Regions from separate parts of the Homo sapiens genome. Here regions 1, 2, 3, 4 and 6 are each linked to region 5. The links are contacts of gene promoters, found by promoter capture Hi-C in blood cells and fetal thymus (Javierre and others, 2016). All regions are on one chromosome and are shown on one strand. The core of a region is centred on a gene start or on the middle of the fragment in contact, and the rest is flanking DNA. Distances in the headings are between cores, read along the strand shown.

Evidence for each region. The method cuts DNA at HindIII sites, captures the fragments that hold promoters and counts their contacts. A CHiCAGO score of 5 or more calls a contact.
Region 1: a fragment that was not itself captured here is called in contact with the fragment with the promoter of SCAI in region 5 in 5 of 17 cell types (endothelial precursors, megakaryocytes, M0 macrophages and 2 more); the score reaches 8.2 in endothelial precursors.
Region 2: a contact is called between a fragment that was not itself captured here and the fragment with the promoter of SCAI in region 5, in 8 of 17 cell types (megakaryocytes, total CD8 T cells, naive CD8 T cells and 5 more). The highest score is 7.6, in megakaryocytes.
Region 3: a contact is called between a fragment that was not itself captured here and the fragment with the promoter of SCAI in region 5, in 6 of 17 cell types (megakaryocytes, endothelial precursors, M2 macrophages and 3 more). The highest score is 7.9, in megakaryocytes.
Region 4: a contact is called between a fragment that was not itself captured here and the fragment with the promoter of SCAI in region 5, in 1 of 17 cell types (naive CD4 T cells). The highest score is 5.1, in naive CD4 T cells.
Region 6: a contact is called between a fragment that was not itself captured here and the fragment with the promoter of SCAI in region 5, in 5 of 17 cell types (M0 macrophages, endothelial precursors, M2 macrophages and 2 more). The highest score is 7.2, in M0 macrophages.

The regions. Positions count from the first base shown.
Region 1 is chr9:125,370,909-125,375,020 of GRCh38, forward strand. No RefSeq gene overlaps it. Among named protein-coding and RNA genes, the nearest start is that of GAPVD1, 110 kb to the left of the region's middle. RefSeq lists an enhancer at 170-670. The HindIII fragment of the contact is 3,508 bases long and covers 769-4,112 here.
Region 2 is chr9:124,971,971-124,976,493 of GRCh38, forward strand. It overlaps SCAI (suppressor of cancer cell invasion), which reads right to left. Exons shown (of 18, transcript NM_001144877.3): 15 at 4,144-4,216. Among named protein-coding and RNA genes, the nearest start is that of GOLGA1, 33 kb to the left of the region's middle. RefSeq lists an enhancer at 3,124-3,682. The HindIII fragment of the contact is 2,202 bases long and covers 514-2,715 here.
Region 3 is chr9:124,891,752-124,896,171 of GRCh38, forward strand. All of the region lies in intron 15 of GOLGA1 (golgin A1), which reads right to left. Among named protein-coding and RNA genes, the nearest start is that of ARPC5L, 32 kb to the left of the region's middle. The HindIII fragment of the contact is 410 bases long and covers 1,463-1,872 here.
Region 4 is chr9:125,319,934-125,323,822 of GRCh38, forward strand. GAPVD1 (GTPase activating protein and VPS9 domains 1) reads left to right here. Exons shown (of 28, transcript NM_001282680.3): 10 at 1,500-1,629; 11 at 3,865-3,889. Among named protein-coding and RNA genes, the nearest start is that of GAPVD1, 60 kb to the left of the region's middle. The HindIII fragment of the contact is 556 bases long and covers 1,359-1,914 here.
Region 5 is chr9:125,140,330-125,144,798 of GRCh38, forward strand. It overlaps SCAI (suppressor of cancer cell invasion), which reads right to left and starts at 3,199. Exons shown (of 18, transcript NM_001144877.3): 1 at 3,056-3,199; 2 at 2,304-2,348. The coding sequence starts at 3,108. RefSeq lists a silencer at 2,818-3,317. The HindIII fragment of the contact is 9,654 bases long and covers 1-4,469 here.
Region 6 is chr9:124,914,849-124,919,233 of GRCh38, forward strand. The region is part of intron 10 of GOLGA1 (golgin A1); the gene reads right to left. Among named protein-coding and RNA genes, the nearest start is that of GOLGA1, 24 kb to the right of the region's middle. RefSeq lists a silencer at 4,236-4,385. The HindIII fragment of the contact is 2,889 bases long and covers 1-2,750 here.

The DNA of each region.
Region 1 (4,112 bases), core at 1,273-3,772, 230 kb after region 5:
GCGTCCTCAGGGATGCCCCTGCCACAAGCCCCTCCACAGCTAAGTGGGCCATACCAATGAGCCTGAACTAGTCCTTTCCCTCCCTGGGCCACTCCCGCCATTACTGAAAAGCCACAGGTTCCCAGCGGTGTTTGGTTATGTTGCTAGGCTCAGGAACTGGAAGATGGATCTAATCTGAGCTCTGTCTCTAACCAGACCTAAGGCAAGTGGCAACTCCTTTGAAGGCGTTTCCTGATTTGGGCTTTATTACCTCACGGATCCCCTGCAGTTTTACCATCTACATAAAATCTTGAACTATTTCTCCTGTACTGGCCTTTAATGGAGGGGGTGGTTAAAGTGCAGGGACACAGTGGAGGCTGCCAGGAGCACGGGGGTGTCCGGAACCCTTGATCAGGAAGGCTGCCCACTGAGCTGACTCAAGAGGGGACTTGATAGTCTTGCCACTGAACACAAGTTCAGGCCCCAAGCTGCTTTTTGTTTTTTGAGACGGAGTTTCGCTCTGTTGCCCAGGCTGGAGTGCTATGGCGCGATTTTGGCTCACTGCAACCTCCACTTCCCAGGTTCAAGCAATTCTCCTGCCTCAGACTCCCAAGTAGCTGGGATTACAGGCACATGCCACCATGCCCGTCTAATTTTTGTATTTTTAGTAGAGATGGGGGTTTCACCATGTTGGCCAGGCTGGTCTCGAACTCCTGACCTCAGGTGATCTGCCCGCCTTGGCCTCCCAAAGTGCTAGGATTACAGGCATGAGCCATTGTGCCTGGCCCAAGCTTCTTTTTAACCTGGTATATTGTGGGTGAGGAGACAGGCCAGGGAATCCTGGAAAGGTGCCTCCTCTGACACCGGTCAGCAGGGCAGTTGCCAGGGAGGGCCTGCGCTGGACTTGCCAGGAGCACAAGGACCACCTGTGCACAGGGCAGACACTCAGAGCCCTTTTTGGTGGTTGTTACTATTTATCTTTTTTTTTTTTTTTTTTAGACAGGGTCTTGCTCTATCACCCAGGCTGGAGTGCAGTGGTAAGATCATGGCTCACTGCAGCCTCGACCTCCCAGGCTCAAGTGATCCTCCCACCCCAGCCTCCTGAGTAGCTGGGACTACAGGTGCATGCCGCCACGCCTGGCTAATTTTTTTGTATTTTTTATAGGTGGGGTCTCGCTATATTGCCTAAGCTGGTCTTCAACTCCTGGGCTTAAGCTATCCTCCTGCCTCAGCCTCCAAAAGTGCTGAGATTACCGGTGTGAGCTACCGCGCCTGGACATTATTAATCTTTTATTGTTATAATAGCTTAATGGGAGAAGAAAAGATTGTGGTCTATGCATGTATGAAAATTAAGAAGATCATGTTGTAGATTGATTTGCAGGATTTTTTAAAGGCGCCCTGCCTTTTTTCCTCAGCGGGGTTCTTGAGCATCCATCGGTGATCGGTGGTCGCTTCTCGCAAATCTTCTGTTTCATTTATTTTGGTTGCTAAGTAGGGAGATCCACCTTTATCTGGGTGATTCAAAATCACGATTCTCCTGTGAGCTGCTCTAATCTTAGCCTTGCCAGCAGGTGAACTTACACCTAAAATAACACTAGCTTTTCTCCTACTCATTTTCTGTTCAAATCCTCCTTTGTAATAGGATGACAGGCTAGGAGTTCAAAGGTTCTCTACTGCTTCTGTGATCCTTGTTCTAGAGGTTTCCAGGACTGCGACGCACAGCGACCTGCAAAGGCAAGAGCAGCAGCACCCAGCCCTGCAGCTGTCACAGTTCTTGCCAGTCCCTGCTGGTTGGTATCTGCGTCTGACTGAGGCATTTGGCCAAGGGCGGCAAGTACTCAGTGGGGTGCAGCCCCTTGATGGCAGGGGTGATGCCACCATGGACAGCCAAGAGAACCCATTTTTTTATTTTATTCTAGATTCAGGAGGTACCTGTGCTTGTTTGTTACATGGGTATTACATGCATAATGATGGGGTTGGGTTCCTAGCCTACCCATCACCCAAATATTGGACACTGTACCCAGGAGGCAGTTTATCAACTAACAGGCTGGGTTGTGAGCTCAAGTCCCTTTCCACTGTGGTCATAAACAGTAACCACAGTGGAGTGATTCCTGACACATGATGCCTTTCTGGGTCCAGATACTTTCATCCCTATGTGCCCCACCCTACACGCCTCTTTGTCACTCATGCCTGCCGCTGCCCAGCCTTCTTCCCTGGCCCAGGCTCTGGATTGCCCAAACCTCCTGAGGGGCCCTTGGCAAATGTCTCTTTTGTGTTGTGCGTGTGTGTGTGGCAGGGTCTCACTTTGTCGCCCAGGCTGGAGTGCAGTGGCACAATCTCGGCTCACTGCAACCTCTGCCTCTTGGGTTCAAGCGATTCTCCTGCCTCAGCCTCCTGAGAAGCTGGGACTACAGGTACACGCCACCATGCCTGGCTAATTTTTGTGCTTTTGGTAGAGACAGTGTTTCACCATGTTGGCCAGGCTGGTCTCGAACTCCTGACCTCAAGTGATCTACCCGCCTTGGCTTCCCAAAGTGCTGGGATTACAGGTGTGAGCCACCGCGCCTGGCTGGGAAATGTCTCTTAAACCTGTCCCCCGCTGCCACAGCCAGTTTTTCCACCTCCACAATCACGACTGACTCCTAGTCTCCCTGCCTCCCTCTCACCCCTTCTCCTAGGTGCCCTTAGAATTCATCAAGTCTGGCCAGGCACGGTAGCTCACACCTGTAATCCCAGAAATTTGGGAAGCCGAGGTGGGTGGATCACCTGAGGTCAGGAATTCGAGACCAGCCTGACCAACATGGAGAAACCCCGTATCTACTAAAAATACAAAATTAGCTGGGCGTGTTGGTGAATGCCTATAATCCCAGCTACTCGAGAGGCTGAGGCAGGAGAATCACTTGAACCCGGGAGGCGTAGGTTGCAGTGAGCCAAGATCACGCCATTGCACTCCAGCCCGGGCAACAAGAGCAAAACTCCACCTCAAAAACAAACAAACAAAAAAATTCATCAAGTCTGAGCAGATTCCTCTTCTGCCTAAAATCTTCTCTTTTCTACCTGGGTTCTGTCCTGCCTTTTCAGCCACATGCCTCTGGTCCTTCTCCTTCCCCTCCAGCCAGCCCCACTCCAGCCACTGAGAACTATCACCTTTCCCAAAGTGCTGCCCTTTGCCGGCCTCTAAGCCTTTGCTGATGCCCAGATCTGACTGCCTCCCCCACAGTCCTTCCTCCTGCCTCAGATGGCCCTTCTGGAGGAAAACCCCAGGTGCCCCCTCCTGCCTCCCTCCTCAGTGAGGCCTCACCCCCATCCCTCCCTCTCCAGAGCAGTGTCTCCCTGGAGCCTGTGCTCCTAGGGGAGGGCATGCCTCCAAATGGCAGGTGTCCCTAATGTTTGCAGATGGGGATGGATGAGAGGCAGAAAGTAGCCCTTCAGGGCGGGGATTCCACCATCTTTTCCTTCCAAATTCAGGCCCTGCTGGGACAGGAACTATCCCTGTCGTGGTCCAGGGCCAGGTAGTTCTTCACGTCCTCTGGGAAGACAGAGTGCCCCAAAGCCCTTGATCTCCAGTGGGTAGAATTAGGTGGGGCAGAGGCTGTGCCACACCAGGTCACACCTCTCCTGTGTCTGCTCCCACCCCACCAAGCACAGGGCCGGGATGAGGATGCCTGGAGCCCAGCTCAGTGCCTGCCTGGGTTGCAGCCCTGATCACACCAAAGTGTCTTGTCTGTTTGCAGCCCTTTATCTGGCTAGCAGGGTTTAATTTTACTCTGGGAAGGTGGGATTTTTGTCCCTATTTACTTATTATTTTCGAATTTATTATCTTTAGGTGGCATCTACAAATCGGCGTCCTCTGAGGGCAACAGCGCCCCGTTCTGCTAGAAATCCCGAGATTTGCAGCCACTGCAGCACGCTGCCTCTGCGGCTTCTCCGCACCATCCCCGACCCCTTCCCCCGCGAGTCTGCCGTCGGCCAGTTTCCTCCCAGGCCCCGGCTTTGCTGTTCCTTGGGTGACATCTTGTGGCCAAGGACAGGTACAAACCATTGGCTGAAAAGGAGGAGCAAAGGCAGCCCTCAGCCCTCTCTGGAGGAGCCTTGGGGCGCCTTCGAGGATGCCCAGGAGGGCAGGGGGCTCC
Region 2 (4,523 bases), core at 365-2,864, 170 kb before region 5:
CAAAGCAGATTCTTCACGAAACTACAAAAACTTTGCTATGTTGCTTTCTGCTGAACAAACTTCAGAAAGAGCCTAGAAAACTTAAGAGAAATGGAAAATGATATTTCTTACTATTTTTTGCTCTCAATTAACAAATTTCATCCAAATATGGCAAGTGTTGGATTATGGGTTATCTTGATAGAATTCTCTGATGAGTGCTACAAACGCCAGTCTTTTTCATTCTCTTCTGAGTTGCTCTCTATGAGCTGCTCTTTCCCTTCCTATCTCTTAAATATGAGTAGTTTCTTTCTTTGGCCCCATACATTGCTGACTGCTCTCACTCCCATGATTTTAGTTACCATTTATATGCCTACAAATTTCTAATTCTCTATCAGCAGCCTAAATTGAATTCCTTAGGTCTGGCACTGCTCTGTCTTGCGGTAGATACTGGACACTAAAAACGTGACTAGATGAGTAAAATACTGGACACTAAAAATGTGACTAGATGAGTAAAATGTGACTAGATGATTTCAAAGCTTTAGTACAAAATGTCATTGTTAACACTAATTTCACCTGTTTCTTTTTACTGTTTTTGATATAGGTAATAGAAAATTTAATGACTCACACTCTTACTTCTTTTAAGTACTGCTGCTCTAGGCTACTCTATTCAACCTAATTCTCAAAGGCACCTCAAACTCAACATGTCAACAACTCAAAGCAAATTATTTCCCCTTTTGTTCTCTACAAATATGCTTCTCATCAGGTATTATCATTTCTACCAGCATCTCAGCCAGAAACCTGGAAGTCTATTCCTGCCTTCCCTCCCCACACCTAGTCCATCACAAAGTCCTGTTGGTTCTATGGTTCTATGGGCTTAGTATCTTTGCAGCTGGCTACTAGTCATTGTGCTATCTCCAGCCATCTCCCTATTTTCATCCATGCCCCTCCCAAGTTCATTCTCTAGGACATTAACTGAATGCTCTTTCATGCTACTCTCCTGTTTAAATCTTTTGATGGTACAAGTTGAGTATCCCTTATCCAAAATGCTTGGGGCCACAAGTGTTTGGATTTTGGGTTTTTTGGGATTTGCAATATTTGCATATACATAATGAGATGTCCTGGGGACAGGTCCCAAGTCTAAACACGAAGTTTATTAATGTTTCATATGTACCGTATACACATAACCTAAAGGTAACTTTACATAATATTTTAAATAATTTTGTACATGAAACAAACCTTGTGCTAAGTACTGATATGTGGAATTTTTCACTTTCAGTATCGTGTTGATACTCAAACTTTTGAATTTTGGAGCATTTCAGATTTTAGGACTAAGAATGCTCAACCTGTACCCCATTGTCTTCCACTTAAATTACTTAACAAATCTTAGAAATTCTTTCACAATTCAATCACACAATCTCAAACTCTACCCTTTAGCTAGAAGGAATGACTAATTTCTCTATGTGCTTGGCCAGGTGTGGTGGCTCACGCCTGTAATCCCAGCACTTTGGGAGGCCAAGGTGGGTGGATCACTTGAGGTCAAGTGTTCAAGGCCAGCCTGGCCAACATGGCAAAACCCTGTCTCTAGTGAAAATACAAAATTAGGCCAGGCACGGTGGCTCACGCCTGTAATCCCAGCACTTTTGGAGGCGGAGGCGGGCAGATCACGAGGTCAGGAGTTTGAGACCAGCCTGGCCAACATTTTTAGTCTCTCATAAAAATACAAAAAAATTAGCTGGGAGTGGTGGCGAGCGCCTGTAATCCCAGCTTCTCGGGACGCTGAGGCAAGGAGAATCGCTTGAACTTGGGAGGCAGAGGTTGTAGTGAGCTGAGACTGCGCCACTGCATCTAGCCTGGGCGACAGTGCAAGACTCCATCTCAAAAAAATACAATAAAATAAATTTCTCTACATGCTCCCTAAGCTGTCTTATCTCATGGCCACAGCACATGCAAATTCTCAGCTGGAACACTCTTGCTCGGTCATTTCCCACCCCCATCTAGTTCTCCATGTTCTTAACGTCCACGTTAGACATTATCTCATCCCCTTCCCTCGTCTTCATTGTGCTGCTAGTCAGGAGTTCCTCGTCCATTTGCAGGCATCCTCTTGTGAATCACTTATAATAACCGCCCATCAGGCTCTGTCTATCTGCCACAAGACATTTGGCTCTGTGAAGAATGTAACTGTGCTTGTCAGGTCATAGTGCTATCTCCAGTGCCCAGCACAGTACCTGATAATAAATGTTGAATAGCACTTTGGGAGGCCAAGGCAGGCAGATCTCTTGAGCCCAGGAGTTTGAGACCAGCCTAGGCAACATGGTGAGACCCAGTCCCTACAAAAAAAAAATACAAAAATTAGCTGGGTGTGGTAGTGTATACCTGTGGTCCCAGCTACTTGAGAGGCTGAAGTGGGAGGATCACCTGAGCCCAGGAGGTAGAGGCTGAAGTGAGCTATGATCACACAACTGTACTCCAGCCTGAGTGACAGAGTGAGACCCCATCTCAAAAAAAAAAAAAAAAAAATTGAATAAATGAAGTAACTCTTGGCTAATGAGAAAACTATAGGCTTTAGATCTCAGAAGTGCTTACTGATCAGCTAGTTTTGCACCCACATGGAAGGCTCTCCCCTTTTGCAGAGGTGAGTAGCAATTATGCCTATGGATAAATCCAAAACATTTCTCACAGAAGAATTTTGAATCTGCTTTTGTAACTGAACAATTAATTTAAGGTGTTAGAGGTCTAAGCTTTGTAGCATGAAGATAGGAAACCGGATAAAATGTGTGAAGGACATGTATTACAACTAAGCATAATAATAATAATGACAGCACATATTGAGTAGTTACTACATACCCAGCATTATTCTATGAGGTAGATACTATTATTATTTCCATTTGATAGATGAAGAAACTGAGGCACAGAATGGCTGAATAATTTCCCAAGGTCACACAGCAAGTAAGTGGCTGAGTCGGGATTCAAATTCAGTCAGTTTGCCTCCAAAGTCTGTTTTTCTCCTCTATACAATGAAGTCTTTCAGACCGAATAATCTTGGTATTAACCTATTTGACCATGTAAATTTAAATAAAACTACATAATGATAGGACAGATTGATAGCAAAAAGTACTGCTCAGTAACTGAAAGAGATTACATTCCTCCAGAAATGATAAGAAACAGGATAACAAAATCTTCAAAGCAGGAGAATTTTACCGTTGTTTGAAGGTAAGTTCTATCCCTTAGTAATTTTACTTTTGGATACATGAAGTTAATATTTCTACATGTTTTTCCCTGTTAAACAGCAGAACTTACCTTAAAACAACGGTGAAAGCCTCCAGCTTCTCTCAGGCATTCAAATGCTGACCATCACTTCCTGTGTCAAACTATGTCAGCAGACAGGACTTCTGGCTGGGAAGTAGCAGTAAAATGCCATCTCCCACAGAGAGACATCAGCACTATTCACAGTTAGGGAGATAGTGAAACAGTGACAAGTACTGCTAAAACAGTGTTAAGGTTGTTTAGTATTTTACCTACTAAATGACTGGGAGTTAGAATTAGATTTTATGTGTCACTAATTAAAGACAAATTATTAAGGACAAAAAGTCTTTTGATTCTCAGCCATTGAAGAAATGGCCAAAACACTAACCTGTCTCTCTGGCAGACTTAGAAGAGGTTCTTTTATTTTTAAATCACAACAAGGTAAAAATGTGAATAAAAGAAACACTTTAAGTTGTGCCAGTTAGGTTATCCTAACTCTGTGGCATAGACTGAGAAGTTTCCTAGACCAGCAATCTTAAAGTCTTAAAAGATGCCTTGGATCTTTTAAAACATGCCTGCAAAGGTATAGGAAAACCATGCTATATGGATATGACCAGCAAATCAAAACAAACACCTATAAAACAAATTTTAAAATTTACAAATCATGAGTTCCCCATCAGCAAGGAACAAAACCACTTCTTTCTCAGGGATGAATTATTTCAAGGCCTAACGGTAGCACATTAAGGGATCCTGGTTGTTGGCAAGGCTTCTGGGTATATTTCAGAGCGACACCTGCCATATTAAACACCATAAATCCACACGCGATCATTATGGGAGGAAAAAACAAAGATCAGTACTATTCATAATATAGATAGTGTTTATTTGCAACCTATGGCTATACCAGGCAATGAGGGTACATACCTTGTAAAGCTTTTGGATATGCTGTAGGAGAAAGCAAGCAGACTAGTGGCTGTCCAAACAAGTTTGTGAAATTCTGTAATATATAAGAATTTAAAACTTGCATTAAAGATTTGACCAAAGATAGTTACTTAGTAATTTTCCAAAGCATATTTTTAGTGTATAGATTGGGCCCTTAAACTCATAAATAGATGCAGAAACATCAGCAACAGCTAAGGAGACTGCCATTCATATATAAGTACCATGCATAATAGGCTTTCTTAAAGGCTCTCAATTGAAATAGTTTACTGAGTGAACTACTGATTTTTTAAACACAAGGCATAAACATGATTGTAGTTTTGCACGGAGAAGTCATCTGGCTGTATACCAAGAGGCCAATCCAT
Region 3 (4,420 bases), core at 418-2,917, 250 kb before region 5:
CTCCTGCCTCCCCCTCCCGAGTAGCTGGGACTACAGGCATGTGCCACCACACCCAGCTAATTTTTGTATTTTTAGTAGAGACCGGGTTTCGCCATGTTGGCCAGGCTGGTCTCAAACTCCTGACCTTAGGTGATCTACCTGCCTTGGCCTCCCAAAATGCTGGGATTACTGGTTTGAGCCACTGCGCCCAGCCTCCCTCCCTCCCTTCTTCACTTCATTCCTGAGACAGTTTCATTTTTGTTGCCCAGGCTGGAGTGCAATGGCACGATCTCAGCTCACTGCAATCTCTGACTCCCGGGTTCAAACAATTCTCCTGCCTCAGCCTCCCAGGTAGCTGGGATTACAGGCATGTGCCACTATGCCCAGCTAATTTTTGTATTTTTAGTAGAGATGGACTTTCACCATGTTGGTCAGGCTGGTCTTGAATTCCTGACCTCATGTGATCCATCCGCTTTGGCCTCCCAAAGTGCTGGGATTACAGGGGTGAGCCACCACGCCGGGCCCATTTTATTTTCTATTTCATTAATTTCTGTGCTTATATTTGTTATTTCTTCCTTGAGTTTGATTTGTGCCTTCTTCTGACTTTTTGAGATGCATACATGGCTCAATTTTCAGGCTTTCTTCCTAAGAGATGCCACTGAGACTGAAATTTCCTTCCATGCACTGCTTTAGTTATACTTGACCAATTTTGATCCACAGTATTTACAAAATCATTTATTTCAAAATATTATAATTATTTTTTTGAGACAGAGTTTTGCTCTTGTCACCCAGGCTGGAGTGCAATGGCACAATCTCAGCTCACTGTGTGAGCCACTGTGCCCAACTTTATTTCAAAATATTTTAAAATTTCCATTGTGATTTTTTTCTTTGACCTATGGGTTATTTGAAAGTGTATTTCAGGCTGGGCATGGTGGCTCACGCCTGTAATCCCAGCACTTTGGGAGGCAAAAGTGGACGGATCACCTGAGGTTGAGAGTTCGAGACCAGCCTGACCAACATGGAGAAACCCCATCTCTACTGAAAACACAAAATTAGCCTAGTGTGGTGGTGCATGCCTGTGATCCCAGCTACTCAGGAGGCTAAGGCAGGAGAATCGCTTGAACCCAGGAGGCGGAGGTTGCAGTGAGCCGAGATCACGCCATTGCACTCCAGCCTGGGCAACAGGAGAGAAATTCCATCTCAAAAAAAAAAAAAAAGAAAGTGTATTTCTTAAATGTAAACATATAAGAGTTTTCTATATGTTTACATTTAAATTTTTATGTTTTTGGAAATGGGTTCTTGCTCTATCACCCAGGCTGCAGTCCAGTTTGTGATGATAGCTCACTGCAGCCTCGACCTTCTAGGCTCAAGAGAGCGTCCTGCCCCAGTCTCCTGAGTAGCTGGGACTACAGGTGTATGCCTTGATGAACTGTGATGAAACCATCACCCTAATAAAAATAGTAAAAATACCCATCCCCCAGAAAGCTTCCTCCTGTCCTTTTGTAATTTATTGTATTAATTTCAGTTATTCTATTTTTCAGGTCTAAAGTTCTATTTGATTCCTTTTTTAAAACTGCTGTCTTTTATCATAACTATAATAATAGAACTATTCCACATCTTGCTGAAATTTTAAATTTTGTCTTTTATCTCCTTAAACATAGTAAGCATATGATATCTGAGCCCTTGTGAGTCTGTTTCTTTTGTGTTGTTTTGTATTTTTGTTTACCTATCTTTGATTTTGTTTTTTCTAGTCACCCAGGAGCACTAATAACCTGGGATCATTTTAATCCAAAATTAGCTAATGGGCTTTTCCTGGGCCACCCCGTGTCCTTCAGTTAGTGCAATCAAAGCTGGGGGCGGGGTGCAGATGGGGTGCTGGTTACTTCCCGTTCAAGCTTACTCCTAGCGTGTAGTCCTGTGGTGTGCCTAACCAAAGCTTTCAGGATCTCCCAGGCTGGATCCAAGCTTTAATAAAATTTAAACTCCAAATTTTATTCCCCTAACTCTGAGAAACTATGAAAAACTTAGATAAACTTCCAGCCTCTTCAGGATCAGCAGATACCACCACGGCAAAAGCTGCTTTGCATGCTGGACTCCCGTCCCTGGGCAGGATGGGCCATTCCTCAGTCCTGTAGGCTCCTACAAGCAGATGTTCTCTTATTTTGGCCAGTTTTTCTGGGAGTCCTCAGGTGAGCTGGTCTGAATTACCTAGTTTGCCTTTACTGCAAGTGGAAGCATCTCTCTAGTCTCATTTTAACCTGCTCTCGTCAACCATATTCCCTACGACTCTACGGTGACTATTCTTCCCAGCGTTGCCAACAAACTCAGTCTCGTCAAATCTAATGGTCAGCTCTTTGTCTCCTTTCTTGACCAGTTGGCAGCATATCACAGAGTTCACTACTCAATCCTTCTTGTAGCGCTTTCTGCCCTGTACTTCCAGAGCCCCACATGCACCTGCTTTTACTGCTACCCTACCTGCGGCTCCTTTGGCGTCTTCTCTGTCGGCCCCTCCTTTTGTTCTGAGCCTGTGCTTGTGGGTGTGGCCCTGGCCTTCATTTTGGCCTCTTTTCTATCTGCACTCATTGATAGCCATTTGGCTGTAATTTTGCCTATGAGCTATGCTGATTGATGGTTTCCTAATTTAAAGTTTTGTGTGTGTGTGTGTGTGTGTGTGTGTGTGTGTTTGAAATAGGTTCTTGCTCTGTCATCCAGGCTGGAGTGCAGTGGTACGATCTTGCACACTGCAAGCTCCGCCTCCTGGGCTCCCAAGCAGCTGGAACTATAGGCACACAGGCTTCCTAATTTATATGTCTACTCAGAATCTGCTCCAATTTTCCAGACTTGTCAGCCTACAGACTACTAGATATGCCTGTTGGGTAGGCCTCTGAAGCTCAACATGCCCAAAATGGAATCCACTCTTGACATACCTCCCAGGACCCCCATCTCAGTGAATGGTACGTACCCTATTCATTCAGTTACCCCAGTGGTTCTCTGCCAGCAGTGCTTTTGCCCCCACAAGACATTTGGCAATGTCTGGAGACACTGTGGTTGTCCTAAGTGGGGCTGCTACTGACATCTAGTGGGTAGATGCTCCTAAGCATCTTATCATGCATATTTGCAGCAAATACAACAAAGAACTTCCACAACAGAGAACCTCCACAACAGAGACCCATCCAAAACAGAGAACCATCCACAACAGAGACCCTCCACAACAGAGACCCATCCACAACAGAGACCCATCCACAACAGAGAACCCTCCACAACAGAGACCCATCCACAACAAAGAACCATTCACAACAGAGAACCACCCACAACAAAGAACCATCCACAACAGAGAACCACCCACAACAAAGAACCACCCACAACAGAGACCCTCCACAACAGAGACTCTCCACAACAGAGAACCATCCACAACAGACTCTCCACAACAGAGACCCTCCACAACAGAGACCCTCCATAACAGAGAACCATCCACAACAGAGAACCATCCACAAGAGAGAACCCTCCACAACAGAGAACCCTCCATAACAGAGAACCATCCACAACAGAGAACCCTCCACAACAGAGAACCCTCCACAACAGAGAACCATCCACAACAGAGACTCTCCACAACAGAGAACCCTCCACAACAGACTCTCCACAACAGAGAACCCTCCACAACAGAGACTCTCCACAACAGAGACGCTCCACAACAGAGAACCCTCCACAACAGACAACCCTCCACAACAGAGAACCCTCCACAACAGAGACCCTCCACAACAGAGAACCCTCCACAACAGAGACCCTCCACAACAGAGACCCTCCACAACAGAGAACCATCCACAACAGAGACCCTCCACAACAAAGAACCACCCACGACAGAGACCCTCCACGACAGAGAGCCTCCACGACAGGGAGCCTCCACGACAGAGAGCCTCCACGACAGAGAACCATCCACAACAGAGACCCTCCACAACAGAGAACCCTCCACAACACAGAACCCTCCACAACACAGAACCATCCACAACAGAGATCCTCCACAACAGAGAACCTCCACAACAGAGAGCCTCCACAACAGAGAACCATCCCCAACAGAGACCCTCCACAACAGAGAACCCTCCACAACAGAGAACCCTCCACAACAGAGAACCCTCCACAACAGAGACCCACCCACAACAGAGACCCACCCACAACAGAGAACCATCCACAACAGAGACCCTCCACAACAGAGACCCTCTATAACAGAGAACCATCCACAACAGAGAACCATCCACAACAGAGAACCTCTACAACAGAGAACCATCCGGCCTCAAACGTCAATAGCGCTGAGGTGGAGAAACTCTGAGTTATACAAACCAAACCTAGGTGTCATCTACAATTCCTATTTTTTTCTCATTCCTAAGTCCTAAAAGCTCCATCTCAGGCAGGGCATGGTGGCTCACGCCTGTAATCCCAGCACTTT
Region 4 (3,889 bases), core at 387-2,886, 180 kb after region 5:
ATAAAACCATTTCAAAACCTTTAATTTACTCAGAGCCAAAACAGCAACCAAGAATTTTTTTTTTCTTTCTGTTTAAAAATCATTTATCTTTTAGCTGACAAAATTGTATCTATTTATGGTATACATGTTTTGATATACATTGTGGAATGGCTGAATCAAGCTAAATAACCTGTATCGCCTCACATATTTTTCATTTTTTGTGGTAAGTTTTTTTCTTTGTAAGTGAGGGTACTATTCTTCCTTCATATTTCAGCAACAGCCAAGGGAGCCAAGGCCTCTGAGTTCAAGTCCAAGGTGTACCTAAAACATGCTATGTGACTTTCAACAAAGCACTTAATTCTTCATTAAGGTGGAGATATACACACAAAGCTGAGTTGTGAGGCTTGTAGGGAGTAGTGAGATGTAGTTATGTTATTTGGAAGTCATCTGGCAAATGGAAAGCATATAAAAAGGCCATCAGTCTAAGCTGGAGATGTCTGTGAAGTCATACTTTAGTTTCTGGTGTGGACTTTTGTGGCCCTGTATGTATGTTGTGATCAAGTGGACGTTCAGACTAGATGGATTAAATCTTGATGCCTACAAAATAACATGATTACACGTTTTCTTCTAGTTGAATTTATTTACTTTTATTTACTTTAAATTTTATTTAAATTTTGCAAATTTAGTATGTTTAAAAATTTTATTTATTGATTTTTTATTTTTATTTTTTTGAGATGGAGTCTCACTGTATCGCCCAGGCTAGAGTGCAGTGGCGCGATCTCGGCTCACTGCAAGCTCCGCCTCCCAGGTTCACGCCATTCTTCTGCCTCAGCCTCCCGAGTAGCTGGGACTACAGGCACCCACCACCAAGCCCGGCTAATTTTTTTTGTAGTTTAGTAGAGATGGGGTTTCACCATGTTAGCCAGCATGGTCTCGATCTCCTGACCTCGTGATCTGCCTGCCCTGGCCTCCCAAAGTGCTGAGATTACAGGCGTGATCCTCTGCGCCCAGCCTTGTTGATTTACTTTCTTTAAATTTTGCAAATTTAATACGTGACATGACAACTGTTTTATGTGCATCTTTTTACTTAATTCTCAACAATTACATGGCATACATACTGTTACTGTCACCATTTTATAGATGAAGAAACTGAGGCTTAGAGAATTTCAATAACTTGCCTATCCAAGGTTACATAGTTGACACATGACAGAATTAGAAGGACCAGCGTGCTGACACCAAAGACTTCTGATTTGTATAATTCTCACCACTACTCATCTGGTAGTCTGGTTGCCTGTTCTATCTGTAACACTCGTAGGGTAATGGAAAGGCATGGCTTCAGCTGCTTTAATTTATATACTTTTATTCCACAGGTATTTAAAAGCTTGACAGACCTTCTAAATAGGTTTGTAGTTAAAAATTGATAATTTAAGATTAAGGAGTTAAATATGCATTTGCTGTGGTTTGTTTCCTTATCAGTAATCTTTCCATTGATAAACCAAAATTGACATTTTATTTTTTAGGTCCTAAACATGCAGCTTTCGGATGGAGGACAAGGAGATGTCCCTGTTGATGAAAACAAACTCCATGGTAAACCTGATAAAACCTTGCGCTTTTCCCTCTGCAGTGATAATCTGGAAGGAATATCTGAAGGTGAAGGGTTACTTCATTCAAGGAGTTGTGTGGTTCAATTAATAGTTTGTTTTGTGTTTTTTAAAGGAGCTTATAAATTATAATTATACCATCTGTGCTTCTCACTGAGGAGACTAATGAAGATTTCCTCTAATGAGCCTGAACAGTTGGCTGTAAAGATTGTTTCCTGAATAAAATTAAAATTGCAAGATGCCTTTGGTCATATAAAATGGAGAAGATATGTCTTTATTCAGACTTAAATAGAATAACAGCAAGTTCTGTTTCTGCAGTATTAATATATACCAAAGCTTATAGAGCTCCTTTAGAAGGATATCATGCATGTCGAAACGGGAAAAAATGGACTTACTAGTATTTCAATATGTTGCACATACTCTTAAATGTTCTGTATTCCTTTACTCACACTCACACATACCTTTATGAAGCAGAAGACAATGGAAATAGGTATTAAAAAGAAAATTCAAAGCCAAGATTGTGAAATGAGAATATGTCATTTTGCCTACTAGTACCAATTTTTTTTTTTTGAGACAGAGTCTCGTTCGTTGCCCAGGCTGGAGTGCAGTGTCGCAATCTCGGCTCACTGCAAGCTCCGCCTCCCGGGTTCACGCCATTCTCCTGCCTCAGCCTCCTGCATAGTTGGGACTACAGGCACCCGCCACCACGCCTGGCTAATTTTTTGTATTTTTAGTAGAGACGGGGTTTCACCGTGTTAGCCAGGATGGTCTCGATCTCCTGACCTCGTGATCCGCCCACCTCAGCCTCCCAAAGTGCTGGGATTACAGGCGTGAGCCACCGCGCCTGGCCCCGGGTTTTTTTTTATTTAAAGACAATAGTTCAAATTTACTGACATTTAAAAAGAAACCTAAAATATAATAACTTCATATTTTAATCTGACTTTTCCAAAAAAATGACATGTAATGTATGTTCATTCTACAAAACAGAGAAATAGAATCACCTATAATCTCAAAATTTTGTTGATAGCAGTTGACGTTTTAGATTATTCACAGCAAAATTAGGTTTATCCTGTTTTGTAACCTTTTGTAATTTAATAATATGGCATTAACATTTCCCTTTGTAATTTAACATTCTTAAATAACATGGTTTTTATGGCTGTTTTCCTTAACCTCACATGGCATATCATAATTTTTTTCAACTTTCTTCTGTGATTAAATCTATAGATTTCTTCCACTTTTTGGACATAATAACTTCTGGGCTGGGCGAAGTGGCTCATGCCTCTAATCCCAGCACTTTGGGATGCCGAGGTGGGTGGATTCACTGAGCTCAGGAGTTTGAGACCAGCCTGGGCAACACGGTGAAACCCCATCTCTACTAAAATACAACAAATTAGCTGGGTGTGGCAGCGTGTGCCTGTAGTCCCAGCTACTCGGGAGACTGAGGCAGGAGAATTGCTTGAACCAGGGAGGCGGAGGTTGCAGTGAGCCAAGATGGTGCCACTGCATTCCAGCTTGGACGATAGAGCGAGACTCTCTCTAAAAAAAAAAAAAAAAAAGAAGAAAAAGCTCTATAACAAGCAACTTTAGATTAATTATTATTATTATTTTTTGAGATGGAGTCTCACTTTTGTTGCCCAGGCTGGAGTGCAATGATGCGATCTCAGCTCACTGCAACCTTTGCCTCCCGGGTTCAAGCAATTCCCCTGCCTCAGCCTCCTAAGTAGCTGAGATTACAGGCATGTGCCATCAGGCCGGCTAATTTTTATATTTTTTGTTTTGTTTTGTTGTGTTGTGTTTTGTTTTGTTTTTTGAGATGGAGTCTCGCTCTGTCGCCCAGGCTGGAGTGCAGTGGCGCGATCTCGGCCCACTGCAAGCTCTGCCTCCCGGGTTCACGCCATTCTCCTGCCTCAGCCTCCTGAGTAGCTGGTACTACAGGTGCCCGCCACCACGCCTGGCTAAATTTTTATATTTTTAGTAGAGGCTGGGTTTCACCATGTTAGCCAGGATGGTCTCGATCTCCTGACCTCATGATCCACCCACCTCAGCCTCCCAAAGTACTGGGATTACAGGCATGAGGCATTGCACCCAGCAGATTAATTTGTTATTAGCACCTTAGGATAAATTCCTAGAAGCAGAATTTCTCAAAGGGCATGTGTTTTTTTAAGGTATAAAAAGTATTAAAAACACTTTAATCAGTTGTTAGTCTTTTATCAAGGCATGAAAAATTGTGTGGTGGCTCATGACTGTTTTAAAAAGATTGCTCACACTATAAACATTTCTCTAGGTCCTTCAAATCGCTCCAATTCAGT
Region 5 (4,469 bases), core at 1,949-4,448:
CCAGCCTGGCCAACATGTTGAAACCCCGTCTCTACTAAAAATACAAAAATTAGCCGGGCATGGTGGCAGGCGCCTGTAATCCCAGCTAATCGGGAGGCTGAGGAAAGAGAATTGCTTGAACCCAGGAGGCGGAGATTGCAGTGAGTCAAGATCACATCACTGCACTCCAGTACGGGCAACAAAGTAAGACTTTGTCTCAGGAAAAAGTAAGTGAAAATAATTTTAGTAACAATTTTATTTACAGCCAGGCATGGCAGCTCACACTTGTAATCACAGCACTTTAGTAGGCCAAGGTGGTTGGATCATTTGAGCCCAGGAGTTTGAGACCAGCCTGGGCAACATGGCCAAACCTTGTCTCTACAAAAAAAAAAAAAAAAAAAAGAGCTGGGTGAGGTGTCAGGCGCTTGTAGTCCCAGCTACTCCAGAGGCTGAATTGGCTGGGTGGCTTGAGCCCAGGAGGTGGAGGTTGCAGTATGCTGAGATTGCACCACTGCACTACAGCCTGGATGACAGAGCCAGACCCTGTCTCAAAAAAAAAAAAAAGTATTTACTCCAATATACCTAAAATATTGTCTCACTATGTCATCAATATAAAAAGTTACTGAGAAATTTTATTTATTCAATTTTTGTACTAACTTGAAATCTAGCATGTATTTTATACTTATCTCATTTCAGACCCTAAATTCTCATTGGAAATATTTGATATATACTTAGATTTCATAAAATGACGGATGAAAAATACAGACTCACATACCCAAGTTGTTCAAAACATACTTGAACGTTTTCCAATAGCTGATCAAGTAGCAGTTTCTCAAGTTAATTTAATTACAATTAAATAAAATTAAAAATTTAGTTCCTCAGTCATGCTAGATGCATTTTGAGTGCTCACCCTGCATATGGTTACTGGATTGGACAGTACAGGCCTAAAGTGTGACAAGGAAACTCTGTTGGCACTTCCACCATCAGCATTTCGTGTCTATTTACTATTGAGGTTTTCTGTGTATTAACATCATTAACTTGCCAGATATTAACTATGAAAGTAGTCCTACTGGTCACATAACTACAGTAGCTTACTTTCTCTAGGTCAATGCCAACATCTGTGAAAAAGGAATCATCTAATGACTACACAGAATTGCTATGTAGTACCTCTCACATGGAATGCAGTCAAAAATGTTTATGTGATAAATATATCTTCATCTCCATTACTCAAGGACTAATTCACTTTGTTTGTGGACTACTTAAACTCTTTGCTTCTATTTTCCTAAGGTTCAACCATTCGAGTTAACTACACAGTGTCCAACGACAAAAGATAAAGCAATAAGAAAACCTACTTTCAATTGCATATTTATTAGCAGCATTATGGTATAACAGTTAAGAGCTTAAGCTCTGGAGTCAGACTGTCTGGATTCAAATCCTGGTTTTATCTTTTACTAGATGCATGATTTTGGGTAAATATTTGGCCTCTCTGTGTCGCAGTTCCCTCTTCTGTAAAATAGTGACACTACATATTCTCTTAGGGTTCTTTGAGGATTACAGGAGAAGATACACATAGAGCATTCGTACACAGTACTTGGCACATAGTAGATGCTCAATAAAATTAGTTTATTTTTTGAGGCAGGGTCTTGCTGTGTTCCCCACACTGGAGTGCAGTGGCATGATCACGGCTCACTGCATCACTGCAGCCTTGACTTCCTGGGCTCAAGCAATCCTCCCACCTCAGCCTCTTGAGAAGCTGGGACTACAGGTCCACAACACCCGCTCAGCTAGTTGGTTTTTGTTTTTTTAATTTTTTGTTTTTGTGGGTACATAGTAGGTGTATATATTTATGGGACCGGCTAGTTTTTCAATTTTTTGTAGAGACGGAGTCTTGCTCTGTTGCCCAGACTGGTCTTGAACTCCCAGGCTCAAATGATCCTCCTGCCTCAGCCTCCCAAAGAGCTGGGATTGAAGGCATGAGCCACCCCAGCCAAGATGAGCTTTTTAAACAGAGATGCTGGAGAAAATGAAATTATGGCTAAGGTTAAAAAAAAAAATAGCTGAGATCCTTACACAACATCAAAAAGTAAAAAAGTAGGATTTCTCAAGATTTCCCACATTATCTTAGATACCAAGAAAAAAAAAATCGACTGTAGAGGTAGTAATTTGAAGTCCTCAAAAGAAAAATCATGCATGTGGTTATATTCTTTTAAAAGGGGGATAAATAAGAAACTTCATCTACTGACAGTATACAATTATGCAGTACGGCACAGGTGCAGCCAAGCAAAAAGAAAAACATGAAGCAAAATAGGAAGGCACTGCCTTACCTGCTTCTCCGTTTTCGAGGCGGTTTCTCCACTGTGCCAGTCAGTCTGCAGACCAAACAAATAAGACGGTAACTAAAAGTAACATACAAGAAAACATCTCCCGGCGCTACCGTGCCAGTCAAGAACTAAATAGACCACCCTCTGGGACCACAGGCTCGCCAAGCCCAGATCTGACCTTACAAACGCCTCATGCCCTGTTTCCCCTATTTACCAAGACCTAGCATTCCTGGGACTCACCGTTCCCCCAATTCCCCCTGAGCTCAAACCTTCCTGGTCCCTCACCCCATCCTCGACCCCTGCTCGTCACAGCCCAGCTCCCCAAAATCACCCACCTCCACCTACTCATTGTCTGCCTCGTCACCCCCGCAAGCCCCCCTAGCCTCCCCTTTCCTGTGCCCACCCGTTCCCGACCGTGCACTGCCCCCTCCACGCCCCGCCTCTCCGGGCCCGGCGACCCCCGCATTCCACGGCCCCTCCGGGGGCGCGCCCGCCTTGCCCCTCCCGGCCCCGCGCCGCCAGCCTCACCCCTCGGCGCCCCTTCCCTCACACGCCCCTCTCACCTGGCCTCGAGGAGGCGATCGCGCCCAGCCCGCGCCGCCGCCTGCAGGCGCCCCCAAGGTCCCCCCAGCCTGCACCCCCCGCCCCTCCGGTCTCTGCGCCCCGAATGCTCCACCGCCCCGAGCCGCTGCCCCTGGGCCCGCTCCCTGGCCCCCACCCCATCCCCAACCCCGGCCTCCACCCAGCCCCCGCACCTGGGGGCCAGGCGACTCCGCGGCTGCTGGGGCTGCCGGGCTCCTCTGACCATCCGGCTCCTGCTCCGCCGCGGGAGCTGCTCCGGCGGCCGCAGGGCTCGCTCGGGAAGCTGAGGCGGCGGAGGCTGGAGTAGGCGGAGAGGCGGGAGGAGGGCCTCGCGCCTCTGCCAGGCTTGCCGCGGGGCCCGCCTCCTCCGCGCCTCTCCTCGGCTCCCATTGGCTAGAGCAGTAGTGTGGACGGAAATCTGTCAGTCGATTGGACGCTCGGCCCGTCACATCCCGCGCTGCCCACCCAGAGGTTTGGTTGAGACTGCAGGTGGCGGCGGAGGTGCCTTAGAGATTGCTAGCAGGGCCGGAGGAGACCCTAGCGCCACCATGCGTCTAAAAGTAGGAACTGCACCCCCGGCTCCAGACACCTGCCCCAGGTTCTCCTGGCTCTGCGTCCTGCATACCACACACCTGCTGGCGCCCCTCCACCTCTGCACCACGCCAGGACCGAAAACAAGCCCTGAAATCTCCCAATTTCTTCTAGCAGGTGAGACAGTGAGGCAACTCTCACAAACGTGTTTCCTTTTAAGCCACCTCGAATGCGATCCTTGTCCCTACATCTTGCTGAAATTGTCTCACAGCTCACAGCTACCCCTCAAAAAGGACCCAGCCAGAAAACTCTAAGAATCCACCAAAATAAAGCATGGTTTGGATGCTCAATCCTCTGCAGAAAAGCTCACTAGCTTGGGTGCAGGCTTTTAAGAAAGTAAGATTTTTTTTTAATTACCATGAAAGAAAAATCAGCACTACAAACAGAACCAATGCCATACTAAAAGCAACGTGTTCCATTTTGAAAGGCCTGGACAAATTTGATCCCTGAATGGAAGCTGACCATCCTGATTGTGTGACCATTGCAAGTTCTACACCAATTAATCAATTTTAAAATAAATTGTACTGTATTTTTTGACAAACAGGCATGCAAAACTGCCTTTCATAAGCATAGTTACCCTTCTTCTGCTTTAACAAAGCCATCCTTGAAAATAAGACTCAGCTCATTAACGTATTATAAAATTCTTGAAGGTGGGAAGGCCTCTCTAAATCTCTACTCCTGTGTGAACTTGTTTGGTATATTCTCAGCATCTGTTCAGAGTTGGGAGGAGGCATAAAACTTTCTCTTAAGTCACTTCCATTTTATTAGAACATCTTTTATGCCTCAATAATATGACAGCGTCGAGTAGTACATGTCAACATTGGGGTGGGGAAAATCTCTCATTGATCTCCATAAGCGGCAAAAATTAGGATACTAGTTTTTCACAAAACCAAATGTATTTGGTGTAAAGAGTTGTCTTTTCTTCTGAGATGGTCCTACCTACATCTTTAATGGTAAAATGACTTTCCATTTATGAAGTAATACTGACGGTAAATT
Region 6 (4,385 bases), core at 56-2,555, 230 kb before region 5:
TAAAACCAAAACAACACATCTTACACAGGTCACTGTGTTAGGCAAAGTTAGGGACAGAAAAAGAATCAGTGGCCAAGTTCCACTTATGCCTCTTGTGCAACATATTGATATGCGATCTCCTTCTCCAGGCTGGCTGATTTACTTCAGGCCCTCTACACCTCATGTGGACTACGGGAACAGTTACCAAGCCATACTCCCTGACATCAAACCTGCCCCTTTCCTAATGATCACCCTCTTCACCTACTCCCTCCCGAGTCTGGGTCTCACAGTTATAGTCCCAGAATATGGACTGCATCAATTCTGGGTGGTGGTCACTTGATTCAGACAGACATGAGTCTGAATCCTGGCTCTGTCATTGACTCCAGCTGTACGGTCTTGACAAATCATTTAGCCTTTGATGTCAGATGCCCATTACTATCACCTGTAAAATAGGAAAACACTGTCTAACCAAAGGGTAGTTGTGAGGACTCGATGAGTCCCTATCTGTAAAGCTCTTGAATACTGAGCTCAGGGTAAATGCTCAGCTATTCTTGTTAAATATTCACTAATGATTATTTATGAAATTTCATGTTCACTATTTAGTCTATACAACTGGCCCTGCATACCTTCCCAGCCTCATCTAGCACCGTTTCCACTTCCTTTCTAAGCGTTAACCACTTGTCTATCCTTTTGGTTCTCCCAACATGCCTTTTTTTCCTTCATTATAAATGTATTTATGGTGCTGAGACCAGTGGCTTATGTTTGTAATCCCAGCACTGTGAGAGGCCGAGGCAGGAGGCTTGCTTAAAGCCAGGAGATCAAAACCAGCCCAGGTAACACAGGGAGATCTTTTCTCTACAAAAGTAAAAAAATTGAAAACAAAAAAGGTTGAGGTTGCAGTGAGCCAACATCGCGCCACTGCACTCCAGCCTGGGCATCAAGAGCAAAACTCTGTCTCAAAAATAAATAAATAGATAGATAAAATAAAATAAATGGCAGGGCGTGGTGGCTCACGTGTGTAATCCTAGCACTTTGGGAGTCCGAGGCAGGCAGATCAAGAGGTCAGGAGTTCAAGACCAGCCTGACCAATATGGTGAAACCCTGTCTCTTCTAAAAATACAAAAATTAGCTGGGCATGGTGGCATGTGCCTATAGTCCCAGCTACTCGGGATGCTGAGGCAGGAGAATCACTTGAACCTGGGAGGTGGAGGCTGCAGTGAGCCAAGATCACACCACTGCACTCCAGCCTGGGCAACAGAGCAAGACTGTATCTCTAAATAAATAAATAAATAAATAAATAAATACATAAATATACTTATTTAAGTAAAAAAAAAAAAGTAAGGTGAATTCCATGAAAATATTGTGTTAAGTACAATACAGGTTAGGAAGAACATAAATTGGGAAGTTGAAAGATAATGGCTACAGTTGAGGAACTGCTATCCAGTAGAGTAAAAAATGTGTAATTCTGAACACTGTGGGTTAAATAAAAACAAAATGAAAAGAATTAAAGTAAAATTTTGTTTCCAAACTGACAGACATCTGGTAAGAATAAACTAGAAAAAAATAGAAAATGCATAAATACTACTATGAATGAAGATAGGGGAGCAACTAAAAAAAGAATATAAGAAATACAATGCCAAAACATTAAACTTATAGCAAATGAACAATTATGTAGAAAAATATAAATTAACAAAACTTAGGAAGAAATACATAAACTTAGAATTACCATTAAGGAAATCTATTCAGTAATTAAAAATCTTCACAAGCCAGGCAAAGTGGCTCATGCCTGTAATCCCAGGACTTTGGGAGGCTGAGGCAGGAGGATTGCTTGTGTCCTGGAATTCAAAACTAGCCTGGGCAACATAGTGAGACCTTAACTATAAAAAAATTTTTTTTTAATTAGCCAGGTGTGGTAGTGTAAGCCTGTAGTCCCAGATATATGGGAGGCTGAAGTAGGAGGATCACTTACACCCAGGAATTTGAGGCTGCAGTGAGCCATGATTGCACCATTGCACTCCAGCCTGGGTGACAGAGTGAGACCCTGACACACAAAAAAAAAAAAAAAAAAAAAAAAACGAAAACAAAAAAAAAACCCACCATCGACAAAAATTAAAATTTTGGTATGTCCCTACTATATTACTATATAATTGAGAAAAAATAAATTATAGCTCCAGGTATCATATGAATGTTTTTCAGGAGTGCAATGTTGAGCACAAAAAGTAAGTTTAGAAAAATACCTACAGAATGATTTATATAACATTAACAAGCATGGGAAACTAAAGAAGATAGTTTAGGGATAAAACTGACAACATTAGAAAGCAAAGTAGACAATGAAGCAATCTCCAAATAGTACTTACTTCCAAAGGAAAAAGGAATGGGATGGAATAGTGAAGGGCACAGAGGGAACCTCAAAGATAAACACATTGTTCTTTTTCTTAACCTGAGGGATAGCTCAGAGGGCTCATTGCCTTATTATACTTTCTATCATACTCATATTTTATAAATATGTTTTTATATATACTCAATAAAGACAAGAAAAAAACAAATTCCAAATTTACAATCTTCACACAATACCAGCCCTTCTTTTGCCCAAGCCAGAAGCCCATAAATCACCCATAAAAATACAGACTTTTCTCTTCCTGTCCTCCCATATCTATTACATTAGTAAGTCTGTCAATCTCTTCAATAGTTCTTACATTTGTCTACCCATTATTATCTTCACCACCACACTTGTCAAAGCCTCCATCATCTTACGGTCGAACAACTGCAAAAGCTTCCTAAGTGGAAGACCCTCTCAGTCTCCTAACGGCCAGAGTAATCTGTTATTCTCTCTTATTCTGTATGTCACTGGCTTTCTTCTAGTTCCTTGAATGTGCTAATCCTTTTATTTGCCTCAGAGTTTTTGTTCATGCTGTTCCCTGCTTGAAATTCTCTCCCATCATCCCTTTCTCTCCAGCCTGAGCACTGTATCGAGTGTTACTTCCTTAAGTGTTCTACGGCTCCAACTGGATCTGATCTGATATATATATATATTTTTTTTTTGAGACGGAGTTTCGCTCTTTTTGCCCAGGCTGGAGTGCAATGGTGCAATCTCGGCTCACTGCAACCTCCACCTCCTGGGTTCAAGCGATTCTCCTGCCTCAGCCTCCCAAGTAGCTGGGATTACAGGTGTGTGCCACCATGCCCAGCTAATTTTGTATTTTTAGTAGAGACAGGGTTTCTCCATGTTGGTCAAGCTGGTCTCGAACTCCCAACCTCAGGTGATCCACCTGCCTCGGCCTCCCAAAGTGCTGGGACTGCAGGCGTAAGCCACCAAGCCCAGCCCTGATCTGATATCTTTTAATAGGATCTCACTAAATCTCGTAGTTTTCTTTCAGAACACTCATCACGGTTAGTAATTATATATGTGATTACTGATTAATGTCTGACTTCCCTTCTAGACTATAAGCACCACAAAGGCAAGAACTGTATCTATTTTGCTCACCATAATATTATGAACACCCAGCACAGAGCCCAGCACATAGTAAAGCTCAACTAATATTTTTAGAATGAATGAAGAAACTTACTGTGACCAAAGTCTGGACTTCCCTGAGCCCCATTTTTCCAATTATAAAAACAACAGATGGTTCTAATTGACATCAAAGGGTCCCTTGACTATCAAAGTTGTGGCCAGGTGCCTGTAATCCCAGCACTTTGAGGGCCGAGGTGGGCAGATCACTTGATGCCAGGAGTTCAAGACCAGCCTGGCCAACATGGTGAAATCCTGTCTCTACTAAAAATACAAAAATTAGCCCGGTTGGTGCCTGTAGTCCCTGCTATTCAGGAGGCTGAGGTGGGAGGATTGCTTGAGCCTAGGAGGTGGAGGTTGCAGTGAGCCAAGATCACGCCATTGCACTCCAGCCTAGGTGACAAAGTGAGACCCTGTCTCAGAAAAAAACAAAATAATACAAAAACCAAAGTTGTGTATCTATTTTCCCCCTTCTTCCATGACCCCAAATGTACTCTCTGACCTTCTGCCTTTTCTGCCTCCTGCTGTCCTCCTGATCCTTGACATTCCAGTTCCTCTAGGAAGATTTCCTTGACTCCTGGGCTGGAATGTACTTCCCCTATGGTATATCTTTTGTATTTGAAAAATCTAGGGCTGAGTGTGGTGGTTCACCTCTGTAATCCCAGCACTTTGGGAGGCTGAGGCGGGTGGATTGCTTGAGCCCAGGAGTTCGAGACCAGCCTGGGCAACATAGCGAAACCCCATCTCTACAGATAATAATAATAAAAAAAAATTAGCCTGTTGTAGTGGCATGTGTCTGTAGTCCCAGCTATTTGGGAGGCTGAGGTGGAAGGATCACTTCAGCCTGGGAGGCTGAGGCTGCAGTGAGCCGTTGACGTCACTGCACTCCAGCCTGGGT